2 separate regions of the Homo sapiens genome follow, and region 1 is linked to region 2. The links are contacts of gene promoters, found by promoter capture Hi-C in blood cells and fetal thymus (Javierre and others, 2016). All regions are on one chromosome and are shown on one strand. The core of a region is centred on a gene start or on the middle of the fragment in contact, and the rest is flanking DNA. Distances in the headings are between cores, read along the strand shown. Region 1 overlaps RBPJL (recombination signal binding protein for immunoglobulin kappa J region like). Region 2 holds the start of WFDC5 (WAP four-disulfide core domain 5).

Region 1 (6,267 bases), core at 3,768-6,267, 200 kb after region 2:
GGAGTTAATCCTTGCATTAAAAAAAGAAAGATTCAGAGATGCCCTGAGGTGAGGTTGAGGGAGTGGAGCAGCAAGGGAGGAGAGGCCTGTAAATAAATTCTCAAAAGTCCCTTAGGGACATTTCAGGGGGTTCCTGGAGGGATGAGAGTAGAAAAGGGATGATCCTATTTTGATGGCTTTGAGGGTGGGGGCTCGATTTGGAAAGGACCCTGCAGAAGTGGGGAAGGGCACTGCAAATCAGATAGGGCACCCTAGGCAGCGTCTCTGCTAAAATACACTCGCCTGACCTGGCTTGATGCCTACTCCCCTGCAGACCCCTCAGTGCCTCCCAATCCTTTGACTCACCTGAGCCTGCAGGACAGATCAGAGATGCAGCTGCAGAGCGAAGCCGACAGGCGGAGCCTCCCGGGCACTTGGACCAGGTAACGGCGGCGTGGCAGCGTGCCCTAGGTGGGGACTGCCAGGCAGCTGGAGCACACAGAGGCAACGGCCGCATTTAACCCAGGGCTGGCGGGTGGGGAGGGGAAGTGCAGGCTGCAACCCCTCCCACTGGCAGGGAGGGATCCCCCCTTCCTCCTGAGGGGGGGCAAACCCAGCACCCCCTGCTCCTACCACGCTTGGAGCTGCAGACAGGGCTAGCTGCGGGCCAGGCTGGAATTCAGCTACAGCGGGAGACTGGGGAGACCGGGGCAGCCACACTCCACAGCCGGAATTCATTGGAAGCTTAGAAGGCACTTCCCTGAGGAGAGCCCCAAGGGGTGGAGCGGTCCTGGCTGTGGCTGCTGCCTGTCTGGCCTGGCTTTCGAGGGTGCGGTCTTGCGCTGTCCCCTCCAGGAGTGAGGAGAGACTCTGGTCCTGCCAAGAGGAATAAGGGCTCAGAAGGACAGCCTCAGTTTTCATGGCTCTCCTTGGGCCTCAACCTGCTAACCCCCCAAATCTCTCCCACCTCCCCTCCTCTACTTGCTCCCTGCAATTGCTCGGGCCTACCCACCCACACCGCTCAAGACCCCCAGGTTAAGAAGCCACCAGACCTCTAGGCTCTAACCTGGCTCACTCTGCAGGACCAATGTCATCTGCCTTGACTCCTGTAATCAAGGGTAGGAAAGCCCACACAGCAACAGGCCACTTCTCATGGGAGAAAGGGAAGAATATGGCTTTGGCCCCAGAAAGGCTCAGATTCCCCCAGGCCATCCCCCATCCTGAGGACAAGGTTTTGGGCCCTTTTCTGTTTGCAGGCAGGAGGCTAGAGAGCGCTCCAGGCCAGGAGCCCAGGAAAGGCTCTCCCTTCCCCTCCCTCCTCACCCCCCACCCTGCCTTCCCCAGGGTGGGGAAGCTTCATCTCTACCAATTCCATCAGCCCTAAAATACTCTTCTCCATCCCAAGGCCAGTATAAGTGCAGCCTTTGTGTCACAGCCACGTGTCCCTATGGCCCTGGGCTCCAATGGGCATGATGCCAGACCCACAGAGTGGAACCTGGGTGGTCCCATGGGTTCCATGCAGGCTTCGTTGAGCACCTTGCAGCCTAAATATTTAGCCTACAATTTGCAGCCAAGTCTCCTCCTTACCTAATGCTTCCTCTTCCTGACCCCACAGGGGCAGGATATAGAGCAGCCCCACCCTCCCACTCACTCTAACCCCCTGCTCACTTCATTTTACTCAACCTGAGTGCTTGGACCCTGTGCCACCTTGACCCTTCTCCCTCCTGTGGCTGGTCGACCTGCCTGCCCTACTCCCAGGTCATCCCCAGAGCACACCACCATTCTGAGGGGAGGCGTGCGCAGGTGCCTGCAGCAACAGTGTGAACAGACTGTGCGGATCCTGCATGCCAAGGTGGCCCAGAAATCATACGGAAATGAGAAGCGGTAGGTGCCTCCGCAGCCCCTCCCAGGTCTCTGCAACTGTCAGCCCTATGCACCTCCTCCATCCACCCATTGGGCCTCTTTTAGACGCAGAGCAGGCCTCAGGGCTGAGATCTCAGCTATTGGTCGACCAGGGCCTTGACCCTCAGCCACCATTAGCCCCCACTTTGGTCTATAGTTCTACAGCAGGAGATTCCCTGTGAATCTCCTGTCTCCATTCATTCACTCATTCTCCCATTGATTCACTTATTCATTCATTCAACAACTACTTACTGAGTGTTTGTCATGTATGCACCAGGCTCTGTGGGTACTGCTGGGCACTGGGCATACAGCTGAACAAGACAGAAACAGCCCCTGCTCTGTAGCCCACACTCTCACTCAAGTGTGGAAGAGACAGACAGTAAACTCCCCACAAGTCAGGAAACAAGATACTTGCAGATTATGATGAGCACTAGAAGGAAAACTGAACGAGGCCATTTGACGGAAACTGAAGGCAGGGGGGACATTAGCTAGAAAGGTCAAGGAGGTTGAGAGACCTTTTGGGAGGTAACATTGGAACTGAAACTTGAATGCTGAAATGGAGCCAGACAGGAGAATATCTGGGGAAAGCGTGCTACAATTAGAAGGAACAGAAGGGCCGGGCGCGATGGCTCACACCTGTAATCCCAGCACTTTGGGAGGCCGAGGCGGGCGGATCACCTGAGGTCAGGAGTTCGAGACCAGCCTGGCCAATACAGTGAAACCCCCTCTCTACCAAAAAATACAAAATTAGCTGGGCATGGTGGCGGGCACCTGTAATCCCAGCTGCTCAGGAGGCTGAGGCAGGATAATTGGTTGAACCCGGGAGGCGGAGGTTGCAGTGAGCCGAGATCATGCCACTGCACTCCAGCCTGGCGACAGAGCAAGACTCAGTCTCAAAAAAAAAAAGGGCAACAGAAAATGGGAAGACCTTGAGGCTGTACCAATTAGGCCTGTTTGAGGTACAAAAGAAATGACAGTGGCTGAAATCAGAGGGAGGAGTTGTAGGAAACAAGTCAGAGAGGTAAGCAGGGGTCAGATCTCAGGAGGACTTTGAATTTTAAACCAGTGGAGGATTTTAAGGAGTTAACATGATTTGACTCATGTTTTTAACAAAACACTCTGGCCAGCCTGGTGGCTCATCCCTGTAATCCCAGCACTTCGGCAGACCCAGGTGGGCAGATTGCTTGAGCCCAGAAGTTCCAGACCTGCATGGGCAACATGACAAAACCATGTCTGTACAAAAAACACAAAAATTAGATGGGTGTGGTGGCTTGTGTCTGTAGTCTCACCTACTCAGGAGGCCGAGGTGGGAGGATCAGTTGGGGAGGCAGAAGTTGCAGTGAGCCCAGACAGCCGAGATCAAGTTACTGCATTCCAGCCTGGGCAACAGAGCAAGACCCTGCCTCAAAAAAAAAAAAAAAGAAAAAGAAAAAGAAAGAAACAGGAAGGAAGGAATGAAAGAAAAAAAGAAAGAAAGAGAGAGGAAGGAAGGAAGGAAGGAGCACTCTGGCTGCTGTGCGAAATGGGAAGGAGATAGAAACAGAACTTTCTGGAAATAGACCAGTTTGAAGGCTGATGCTGTGGTCCAGGCAAAAAGTAATGGCGGCTGGGATGAAGGGCGAGGTGGTAAAAAGCCAGTGGATTCTGGATATATTATATTTTGAAGGTGGAGTGGACAGGACCTTCTGATGAGTTGAATGAGGGGTGTAAAAACAATAAGGTTTGGCTATGAATGGGGTTTACAGTCGTGAAAAAGCGTTGCGGGGAGCGGGAGGAGGAAACGAAGGTTCTGCTGGGTTTATGCTACTACCTTGCCGTGCTTACAGGAGAGCCAAGTGGAGATGGATGCACGACTCCAACACTCACTTATCTCCGCAGGTTCTTCTGCCCCCCGCCCTGTGTCTACCTCTCGGGGCCTGGCTGGAGGGTGAAGCCAGGGCAGGATCAAGGTGAGGGCGGAATCAAGGGCTGCCGGCCGCCTGCTCTGTAGGGAGGACCACGAGATTGGGCCCGAGACGGGGCGGTTCGCAGGCGCAGTCTCCCCGCGCCCTCTGGCGGCGAGCGCTAAGCTTGCCTGGCACCTGCGTCCTCCCGAGTCCTTGCAGAGCCAGTTCGCGTCCCTTTCCAGCTCACCAGGCGGGGGAAACGGGGCCCACGGTCTGCGGTTACATGGGACTGGACAGCGCGTCCGGCAGCGCCACTGAGACGCAGAAGCTGAATTTCGAGCAGCAGCCGGACTCCAGGGTGAGAGCGCACGGGAAGGGGTCCGATTCCTGCTCCCATCCCTGCCTCTCCTGGGAAAGGAGGGCTCCTTTACTCCCCTCCGAAAGCCAAGAGATAGGTGGGGAGACCGGGAGGCCGGGGTCCTGCCTTAAGGCCGAGCCTGAGAGCCTGGATGGTGGAGCTTCTGGTCACCTCCGACGGGGCGGACGTCCGATATCTGGGAGAGGTTGGTTCATCCGACGGGGGAGGGCTGGGATGAGATGGCCCTGTACCTGTGAGCCCCCTAGGAATTCGGCTGCGCCAAGACCCTGTACATCTCAGATGCAGACAAGAGGAAGCACTTTCGGCTGGTGCTGCGGCTGGTGCTGCGCGGGGGCCGGGAGCTGGGTACCTTCCACAGCCGCCTTATCAAGGTCATCTCGAAGCCCTCGCAGAAGAAGCAGTCGCTGAAAAACACCGATCGTGAGCAGGGCGGGGCCTGACCCCCGGCCCGGGCGGGGAGGTGCAACCAAGCCCAGAACGGCTAAACTGGGGCGCGGAGGTGGGGGTAGGCTGGGCTTAGGGGTCAGAGTGGAAAAGGTGGAGTCGGAGCCGAGAGGGGAAGGAGTCTGGATGAGTGGGTGCGGCCCAGGCCTGGGGATGAGAAGAGTTGGAGGATGAAAAGCAGAGAGGAAAGGGACAGATACCAAATTCCAGGTTGGGAGTTGGGGTCCCAGAGCAGACAAAAGTTGAACTAGGCAGGAGTTGAACTAGGGACAGACTAAAAGTGACATAGGTGGGGCACGGTGGCTCATGCCTGTAATCCCAACAATTTGGGAGGCCAAGGTGGGCGGATCAGTTGATCCCAGAAGTTCAAGACTAGCTAGGGCAACATGGCGAAATCTTGTCTGTACCAAAAAAAAAAAAAAAAAAAGAAAAAGAAAAATTAGCCTGGCATGGTGGCCTGCACTTGTTGTCCCAGCTACGTGGGAGGCTGAGATCAGAAGATCACTTGAACCCAAGAGGTCGAGGCTGCAGTGAGCTGTGATAGCACCACGGCAGTCCAGCCTGGGTGACAGGGTGAGATGCTATCTCAAAAAAAAAAAAAAAAAGTTTTACTTTTGTTTGTTGAACTGAAAGATGTCCAGACAGCAAAGGAACAGGCAAAGGTTCCAAAGCAGGACTGCAGCAGGTCCTGGAAAAACAGCTGTGAACTGGGAATGCCCAGTGTATCTAGGCCTGTGGGCACATTAGCCAGGCCGGCACAGGGACAGAAGATTGGAAACTGTCTGGAAAGTCCAAGGAACCAAGCCAGGACAGGGCACTGATAGCACCAACTAACCTTAACCCTCACCCTGACCCCCTCCCTCACCCTAACCCTCACCCTAATCCTAATCCTTACCCTCACCCTCACTCTAACCCTCACCCTAATCCTAACCCTCACCCTCACCCTAACCCTCACCCTAACCCTAACCCCAATCCTAACCCTAACCCTATCCCCTCACCCTAACCCTGACCCTCACCCTCACCCTAACCCTGACCCTCACCCTCACAGTGTGCATATCCTCCGGCTCAAAGGTCTCCCTCTTCAACCGCCTGCGCTCTCAGACGGTCTCCACACGCTACCTCTCTGTGGAGGATGGGGCCTTTGTGGCCAGTGCACGACAGTGGGCTGCCTTCACGCTCCACCTGGGTAATGACATCTGCAGGCCCTGGAGCTGGGCACTTCACATGCATTAGCTTATTTAACCTCCACCACAACTCCTTAAGGAAGGTAAACTCTGCCCCATGTGATTAAGGCTCAGAAACACAAAAAGACTTGACTACAGTCCCAGTGAGCTGGTGACTGTTCCAAGCTATTCTGACTCCCTTATCCATGCCCTTTCCCCATATATCAACTAAGCTGCCTGCCCCCAACCCCTGCCCCCAGGGCAGACATTTGTGAGGATGGCCTCAAATGGCCTCTCCAGAATTAGAACCTTCAGTTGGCTCCCCTGAGTACCAAGCTTTCCCGCAGGGCCCATGTGTGATGTGAGGAAGAGCCAGAGGCAACAAGGCAGGGTTTAAGGCAGAAGCTTGGGGGCCGCTGAAAACCTTGTCCCTTGCTTTTTTTGTCCCCCAGCTGATGGGCACTCTGCCCAAGGAGACTTCCCACCGCGAGAGGGCTACGTTCGCTATGGCTCC
Region 2 (7,110 bases), core at 4,355-6,854:
AGGTATGGTGAAAATCATGAAAGAGGTGAATGACTGATGTTTGGAAAACTCTGCAAGAATATTCATTCTGGATGGTTGGGCTGCCTGAGGGAGAGGTCAGGGTCTGCCTGAATTGGGCATTTTTGGTGGAGGAAGCAGCATGTACGGATTGGTGTGAAAGCGTTAGGAAGGGTGGGAAGCTCGTATGGCAGTGGTGCAGAGTACTGGGGTGATACAGAGGCCTTCCTCCGAGCTCAGGCTATGGACTTTGACTCCCAGGAGGAGAAACCAGGGGTGGATGGGTTGCAGGGAAGTGTCAGCAGGCCAGTGATTATCAGAAGGCTGGAACCACCGCTGGTAGAGATAGTGCTGTCCAGCGGGCAGGGCCCCAGGCCTCCCATCGTGAACTCTTTCCGTTGGTCCCCAGCTTAGGTGCAGAGCCACAGATCCTAAATCAGAATTAGCCTGAGGAGGGAGAAAGAAAGGGTTAATTCCTTCCCATAATAGGGCTCTGGTTTCTGGCCTTGGTCTCCCATCCATGCCCCACCAGCTCAGCTCTGGTTGCCACCAAGGCAGGATTCCTCTGCCCCCTTCAAAAGGGCAAACAGAAGCCCAGAGCAGTTTAGGGCTGTCATCCAGGTGCCACAGCAAGCTCAAGAAGAGAACCAAGGACTCCCGGGTCCTCTGTCATCCTAGCAGGACTCCTCCAACCCCTATCCAGTTTCCTAATCCTGGCCATGGGAGGTCCTGACTTCTGGGGAGGCATCCTGTTAAGCTTGTAGCAATGAAGAAAGTATTAGAGCTGGGCTCGGAGAGGGGAGGCACCTGCCCTGGGCACCCAGGAGCCGTACCTCTGGCAGGATCCCGGCAATCCCGCCCGCAGGCGCTGTGGCAGCATCGCTTTTTGCCCGAGCAGTCTGAGTCCTTGTGACACAGGTGGTTCATGGGGCTGAGGCAGCGCAGTTGGTCCTCTGGGCAGCTGCCCAGCTTCACTGCAACACAGGGAACTGGGTGAGCTCCGTCCTTGCCCACTGGCCCTGAAGCTTGGGGCTTGGATGGTCAGCAAGGTGGAGGGGAGGCATTTACCAGAGACCCTGGGGACACACTGGCGGAAGCAAGCTCTGTAGCAGCACTTCCTGGTCAAGGGACACTGGCTGTCTTCCACGCACTGGTCAGGCACCGATAGGAGGCAGGGCCCATCATCTGGCGGGCAGCCCCCCGATTTCTCTGTAAGAGAATCTCCTAATATTGCAGCTGGAGGAAGCTCACGGTTATGTAATAAGCGCTGACCTGGGAATGACAAGACTGAATTCTCCATCCCTTGCTTTTTGCCTGTCTTTTGGCTAGTTGTTATTTTTGTTTGTTTGTTTGTTTATAATGACTCCAAGCCTCAGTTTTCTGGCTGTGAAATGGGAAGCTGGGCTAGTTTGAGACTCAGATGGCACAAATGACAGGGGAAAATGAAGCCCAACATCTCCACTGTGGCCAATAAGGCCATGCCTGGTCTGGGCCCTGCCCATCTCTCTAGCCCCATCCTCTACTGCCCTCCCACTCAGTGCCTCCTGATCTGCTCCAAGCCAGCTCTCTCTGCAGGGCTCTTGCTCGGGCCGCATCCTTTGCCTAGTGCACTTCTCCTGTACTCCATGCGCCTGGTCAGCTCATTAGGACTCAGCAGAAACATCGCATCCTCAGAAGACCCTACTTCTCTGACCCCACATTAACTAGGTCAGCGCCCCCCCACCCCGGCCCCCACACACACACTCATTTCTTTCCTCCAGAGTTTGTGATGCTGCATCTGTTTGTCTGTGTCTCTCACTTGGCTGGAGGTGAGGAGAGTAGACACCCTGCCAGCTTTGCTCACCGTTGGTCCATATCACAGCCCTTGGCGCACAGCAGTAGGGCTCAGTGACTTGGAAAGAAAGGGTTTTGAAGTGAGGCCCAGCATTGCACGTGCGTCAGCAGTGGCCAGCCTGGTGCACTGTCACAGCCACAGCTGGCCACGTCTTCTGCACCGTTGCGTTCATCACTGTTGCAAATGGCATGGTTTCGAGGATCAGGCGTTAACTCTGTCTCTGAGGCGTTCCTCTGAATGGTATAGAGTGTCCTGTCCCAGAGCTTACCTAACATTCTTCTTGCTGGGATTTTGGGCCATGTTCATATTTCATGCACAAAGCTGGAAATCAGTATCCTCCTCCATGTAGAGGAGGAAATCAAGGCCTGAAAAGGGCAGTGACTTGTCCAGACCCACATGGGCTGGGCTTAGGACTCCCAGGGCCCGGCTCCCTCTGACCTCTGTGAGTGTCCACCCTGAGCTGTCTTTGAGCTGTAGGGATGGAGCAGGTCCCAGGTCTTCAATTCAATCCAGCATCAGAGAAAATGTTCAAGAGTTCCGAGGGGCAGCTGGATCTGGTTCTGTGACTTTACCTCTGTGTCCGCCCCTCCCCCTCAGCCCCCTGCCTGGGTGCTGGCTGCACACATAAGTAGGCACCTTGCTCACATCCTACGTGCGCTAAGTCAACTTCAGCTGTCACATCGGGTTGGTTTAAATTAAATTGCTGCCCCCTGCTGGAGAAAGAGAGGCTTGGCGTGGGGAGGGGGAAAAAGTGTGGGTTTGGGGTGGTGGGGGTGATGGGAGGGTTCCTGGGAAACTGTCTGAGGTCCAAGGTTTAGCCCTGAATTCACAAGTCCAAGTCAAAGGTGCGCAGGCCTCAAAGGGTGGGCCAAACGGAGCTGCGTGCACTCAAAGCCGGTGGAGCCGGGTGGGTCAGGCAGGGAGAGCTTCTGTGGCGAGGGGCCTGGGGCTGGCCTTGGGGAATGGACAGATAGGGATGGGGCATGACAGCTGGCATTTCCAGTGGAAGAACTGCGATAGCTGCAATGTGGAGGTGGGGATAAAAGCCTGGCGTGTGCAGAGCCGGCGTGAGAGGCTCTGGGTGGTCACACTCACTCTGTTTGCCTGCCTTTCCTAACAGTCCCTCCAAACCAGGTTCTCCACTCACAGATGTGTACATCGAGACAGTCACACACACAGATGGTCATCCAGATGCATGCGCCATGGGTGTGTAGACTTAGAGAGCAAAAGAATCGTATCCAAACATGGTTAAATATATACACTTGTACACACAGACGATACACACATAGTCAAATACACAAGCACATTTAGATCTAGACACACAATTAGCTACAGGCTTAACAGTAGGAAACTGCAGATAGTCAACTGTTTTATCTACAAAAGTAGCAATTTTACATGGTTCAACTTAATACACACATATATACATATGGACATATATCAGAGAGTTATATATATGCAATATATTTATAAACATATATAAACAGGCAGTCATGTATGTACATATGAGCTGGAACATAATCACTGTCATTTACACATGCCTACCCACATAGATACATACACACAGATAGACACTCAGACACACACAGTTATGTATATAAATATATAAATATATAGCATATGTATGTGAACAGAGAGACATACATAAGCATACACAGTCATATATACAGAATCATATGCACAGAGCTACACAGACACATATATCTTCCCAATACCACATAACCACTGACAGCATTTAATTAGGCACTTGCTGTTTATCAGGGACTATGCCAGGCTCTTTGTATCAGAGACACCCAGACGTTTGAGTGAGAAGGGGGCAGAATGGGGAGCTCTTATAAACAGAGGCGGCTGGGCTTCCACAGGCAACAAACTGAGACTTCCCTTCCCTTGGCTTCGTCACCTTCCTCCATTGTCTGAAATTCTACCAACAGCTCGGCAATGTCTTACAGGAGAGAAACCAGTGGGGGACAAGGTGTGGTGAACTGGGGGAGAGACAAGCTTGTCACACCTGCCCATGCAGAGTGGCCCTGCGCAGGCTCGGTTTCTGCTGTGCCAGCTCTTTGCCTCTGAGCAGCTGGGCTGAATATTGGGGTGTGCTCCCTGGGAACACAATGACTCCCCCAAATCACCCACTTATGCTGTGCTTACTGTGTGCCAGGCCCTTATTCCTCGAGACACCATTTACTCCTGAGAGAGAGGCATGGGACCCCATTTTACAAGGAGTAAGTCTCCAGACCTGTCCTGTTGCCTTCCAGGAGTGTCCTGCCTGGAAGTCCTAATAAACTCATGCACTTGCCAATCTGGCCTTGTCTAAGTCATTCTTTGTTCTCTCAGCTCCTTCCTATGTTGGGGGTGCATTGTCCTGTACAGTCCTGGGTTTTTGCTGTAATAGTTGGTAAAGTGAATCTTTCTGATTTCAAATACTTGCACTCATGCACTTGCTAATCTGGCCTTGTCTAAGTCATTCTCTGGTCTCTCAGCTCCTTCCTATGTTGGGGGTGCATTGTCCTGTACAGTCCTGGGTTTTTGCTGTAATAGTTGGTAAGGTGAATCTTTCTGATTTCAAATACTTGCATTCAAATGCCACATTTGGCACTAACTCAGAGTCAGTCTTTGACCTTGTTAAGTGGTTCCCCGCTATGCCTCAATTTTCCTCATCTGCAAAATGGGGATGAAAATAGTCCTGTCCTCACAGCACCTTGTCGAGGAGTTACGTGATGATGGTGCATGAATCACAGCCAACACAGGGTCCAGCCTTGGAGCTCACCAGTGTACTTCCTTCCTCAGCCTGTCCCCATTACTGTCCCCTTTCTTTAAGGCAGGGCAAGGGTTGCACAGGTGAATGTAGGTTGGAGTGTTCCAGCCCCAGAAAAGGACGCAGGTGGAGGCCTCACCCAGATCAGGAGTCACCTGTCTAGCCACTCAGCAGCCCTCCCTCACCTGTCAGCAGGCCAGCCCCAGCCTTGTCAGGGGTGGGAATGGGGACAGGAGGTTGGGGGCGATGAGAGTTAGAGACAGAGCTTCCTCCCCACAAAGCCCAGATCCCAGAAGCCACACCCTCTCCTCAATTCCCAAGTCCCTTCCACAGATGGGGTGGTGGACCCACTGACCCAGTCACACCACAGCCCAGCAGGCACAGACAGGGTCCCTCCCCACACCTGAAGGCACAGAGACACACATGGACAGGCACCAAGCTCAGACACATGCGTGCAGCCATTCCTAAGTGTACGTGTGCAGACAGAGCTTTGCACAGACAAGCAGACGCAAAGACACATGTCTACACAGACACAGGCACATGCATTCCCCGCCCTGCCACCCCCTGACATATAGACAGGCACAGACAAGCACCGAGAAACTGGCAGAAAAGACACTTACAGATACCAACACAGGCAGGTGGACAGGCACAAATGTACACACATAAAAACACAGGCTTCTGAAAGCACTAAGAATCAGGCATCCACACATACACACACGCACGCACGCACACACACACGCGCACACACACCCCACAGGGCATTACCTGCCTTCCCCCAAACCCTTACTCTCCCTAGAGAAGTAGAGACAATCTGGTCCCCCCAGCAGAGGGATTTCCCGCACTCACCTCCCTTCTTCCTGCCAAAGACAGCAGGCAGCTGACTCCCCACAGCCAGGAGGGCCCCCAGGAGGAGAAGGCTCTGGGTCCTCATATTTCTGCTGCCGGCTCAGGGCCCAGGGCCCCCCAGATTAACACCTGCAGCCTCAGGGAAGCCAGAGAAACTTAGTCAGGAGAGGAAAGAGAGGGGGTGTGGAGTGACACCGTGCCTGCTTCATCTTGGCCCCACCCCCTGAGGGCCCGAGGACTCAGTGCAAGGGATGCTGTCACAATAGCTGAAGATAGGGTGGCGGCACATCCTGCATGTGGGGGACTCAGATCCAGTCTTGCCTGTATCGGTGACTTGGGCTGTGATCTTGGGCAAGTCTTGTCTCTCTGGGCTTCAGTTTTTTCATCTGTACACAGGGTGAAGGTTGTTGAGGCAGATGCTTGCTATCCTGGCTCTCAAAGATGTTGAAGCCCCAGCGATGTCTAGGCAGCGGGTAGAGGTCAGCTTTGAATAGCAAAGGAGTGGGGGTTTGCAGAGTTCTGGATGCCTAGGAAGGGAGAAGGCATTAGGGTTAGGCCAGAGCTTGCAGCCAAAGAAGGCTGGCCCAGGCTGGCATAATGAGTGAGGCCAGCCCTGGCCTCTCCTCTTGGGTCCTGTGGATGGGAGAAAGACCACCCCGCCTTTGGTGAGATCACCAGTGGCTTCTGATAGAACTGCCCTCTTCCTGGGGCTGGCTTGGCTGTTGAGGGTGGGGGAGCATGGCTTTTGGCTTGGCTAAGTTTGCTGGTCACAGCAGATGTGTGGCCACTGGAACCTCTTCTCTGGCCCTAAGGGATCCTGAGCAAAAAAATGTCATCTCATCCAGGGACCCCCACCTTAGATTTCGTATCTCTGATGTTGCCTCCTGCATTTGGTAGAAGAGAGGGAGCTGAGACTTGGCATCCTAAGGGACATCCTAAACAGAAACTCCATCGAAGTACATTCTCTCAGCCTTCTCATTTGAAAGACGAGGAAACTGTGAGATAGAGATGAGAGGGGACTGGCCCAAGGACACGCAGCTAATTCCTGACTAAGCTGGGACTTCCCACTGTGGCCTCCCCATCACCCTCATTCAGTTCCTGGGTTTTAAAAGCAGGTCAATACCTCATCTGATCCTGAGAAAGGAGGGTGATATTACAGGGCTTGTCTCACTTACCCATTCCAATCCAGGACAGCCCTGGCAGCAGGAAGTTCTTCCTTGGGTTTAATGTGAATCTCTCGTGCTGTCTTCTAAGCTATTAAGATAGGAGAGGCTCTGTCTTCTATGATCTGATGTTGCTTTTGGAATGCTGGCACCTCCTTGGAAGCTTTATTTTGGAGGACAAATATATGAGCCCTTCCTTCCTCCCTCCCTCCACCCCTCCCTCCCTCCACCCCTCCCTCCCTCTTTCTTTCTTTTTTCTTTTCTTTCTTTCTTTTTCTTTTTCTTTCTTTCCTTTTTTCATTTCTTTCTTCTTTCTTTCCTTCTTTCCTCTCTTTCTTTCCTTTCTCTTTCTTTCTTTTCTTTCTTTCTTCTTTCTTTTTCTTTCTTCTTTCTTTCCTTTTTTATTTCTTTCTTCTTTCTTTCCTTCTTTCCTCTCTTTCTTTCCTTTCTCCTTCTTTCTTTCTTTCTTTCTTTCTTTCTCTCCTTCTCCTTCTTCTTTCCTCTCTCTCTTTCTCTTT

Evidence for each region. Contacts are between HindIII fragments. The CHiCAGO score rates a contact against its expected background, and 5 or more counts as called.
Region 1: a contact is called between a fragment that was not itself captured here and the fragment with the promoter of WFDC5 in region 2, in 1 of 17 cell types (endothelial precursors). The highest score is 5.2, in endothelial precursors.

The regions. Positions count from the first base shown.
Region 1 is chr20:45,307,830-45,314,096 of GRCh38, forward strand. RBPJL (recombination signal binding protein for immunoglobulin kappa J region like) reads left to right here. Exons shown (of 12, transcript NM_014276.4): 2 at 314-422; 3 at 1,738-1,863; 4 at 3,760-3,830; 5 at 4,010-4,125; 6 at 4,392-4,566; 7 at 5,639-5,776; 8 at 6,206-6,267. MATN4 (matrilin 4) reads right to left here and starts at 470. Exons shown (of 10, transcript NM_001393530.1): 1 at 346-470. RefSeq lists a silencer at 3,794-3,843. The HindIII fragment of the contact is 2,139 bases long and covers 3,949-6,087 here.
Region 2 is chr20:45,109,570-45,116,679 of GRCh38, forward strand. WFDC5 (WAP four-disulfide core domain 5) reads right to left here and starts at 5,605. Exons shown (of 4, transcript NM_145652.4): 1 at 5,430-5,605; 2 at 1,066-1,206; 3 at 831-971; 4 at 1-444. The coding sequence starts at 5,514. The coding sequence ends at 440. RefSeq lists enhancers at 5,041-5,542, 5,543-6,042. The HindIII fragment of the contact is 2,929 bases long and covers 3,825-6,753 here.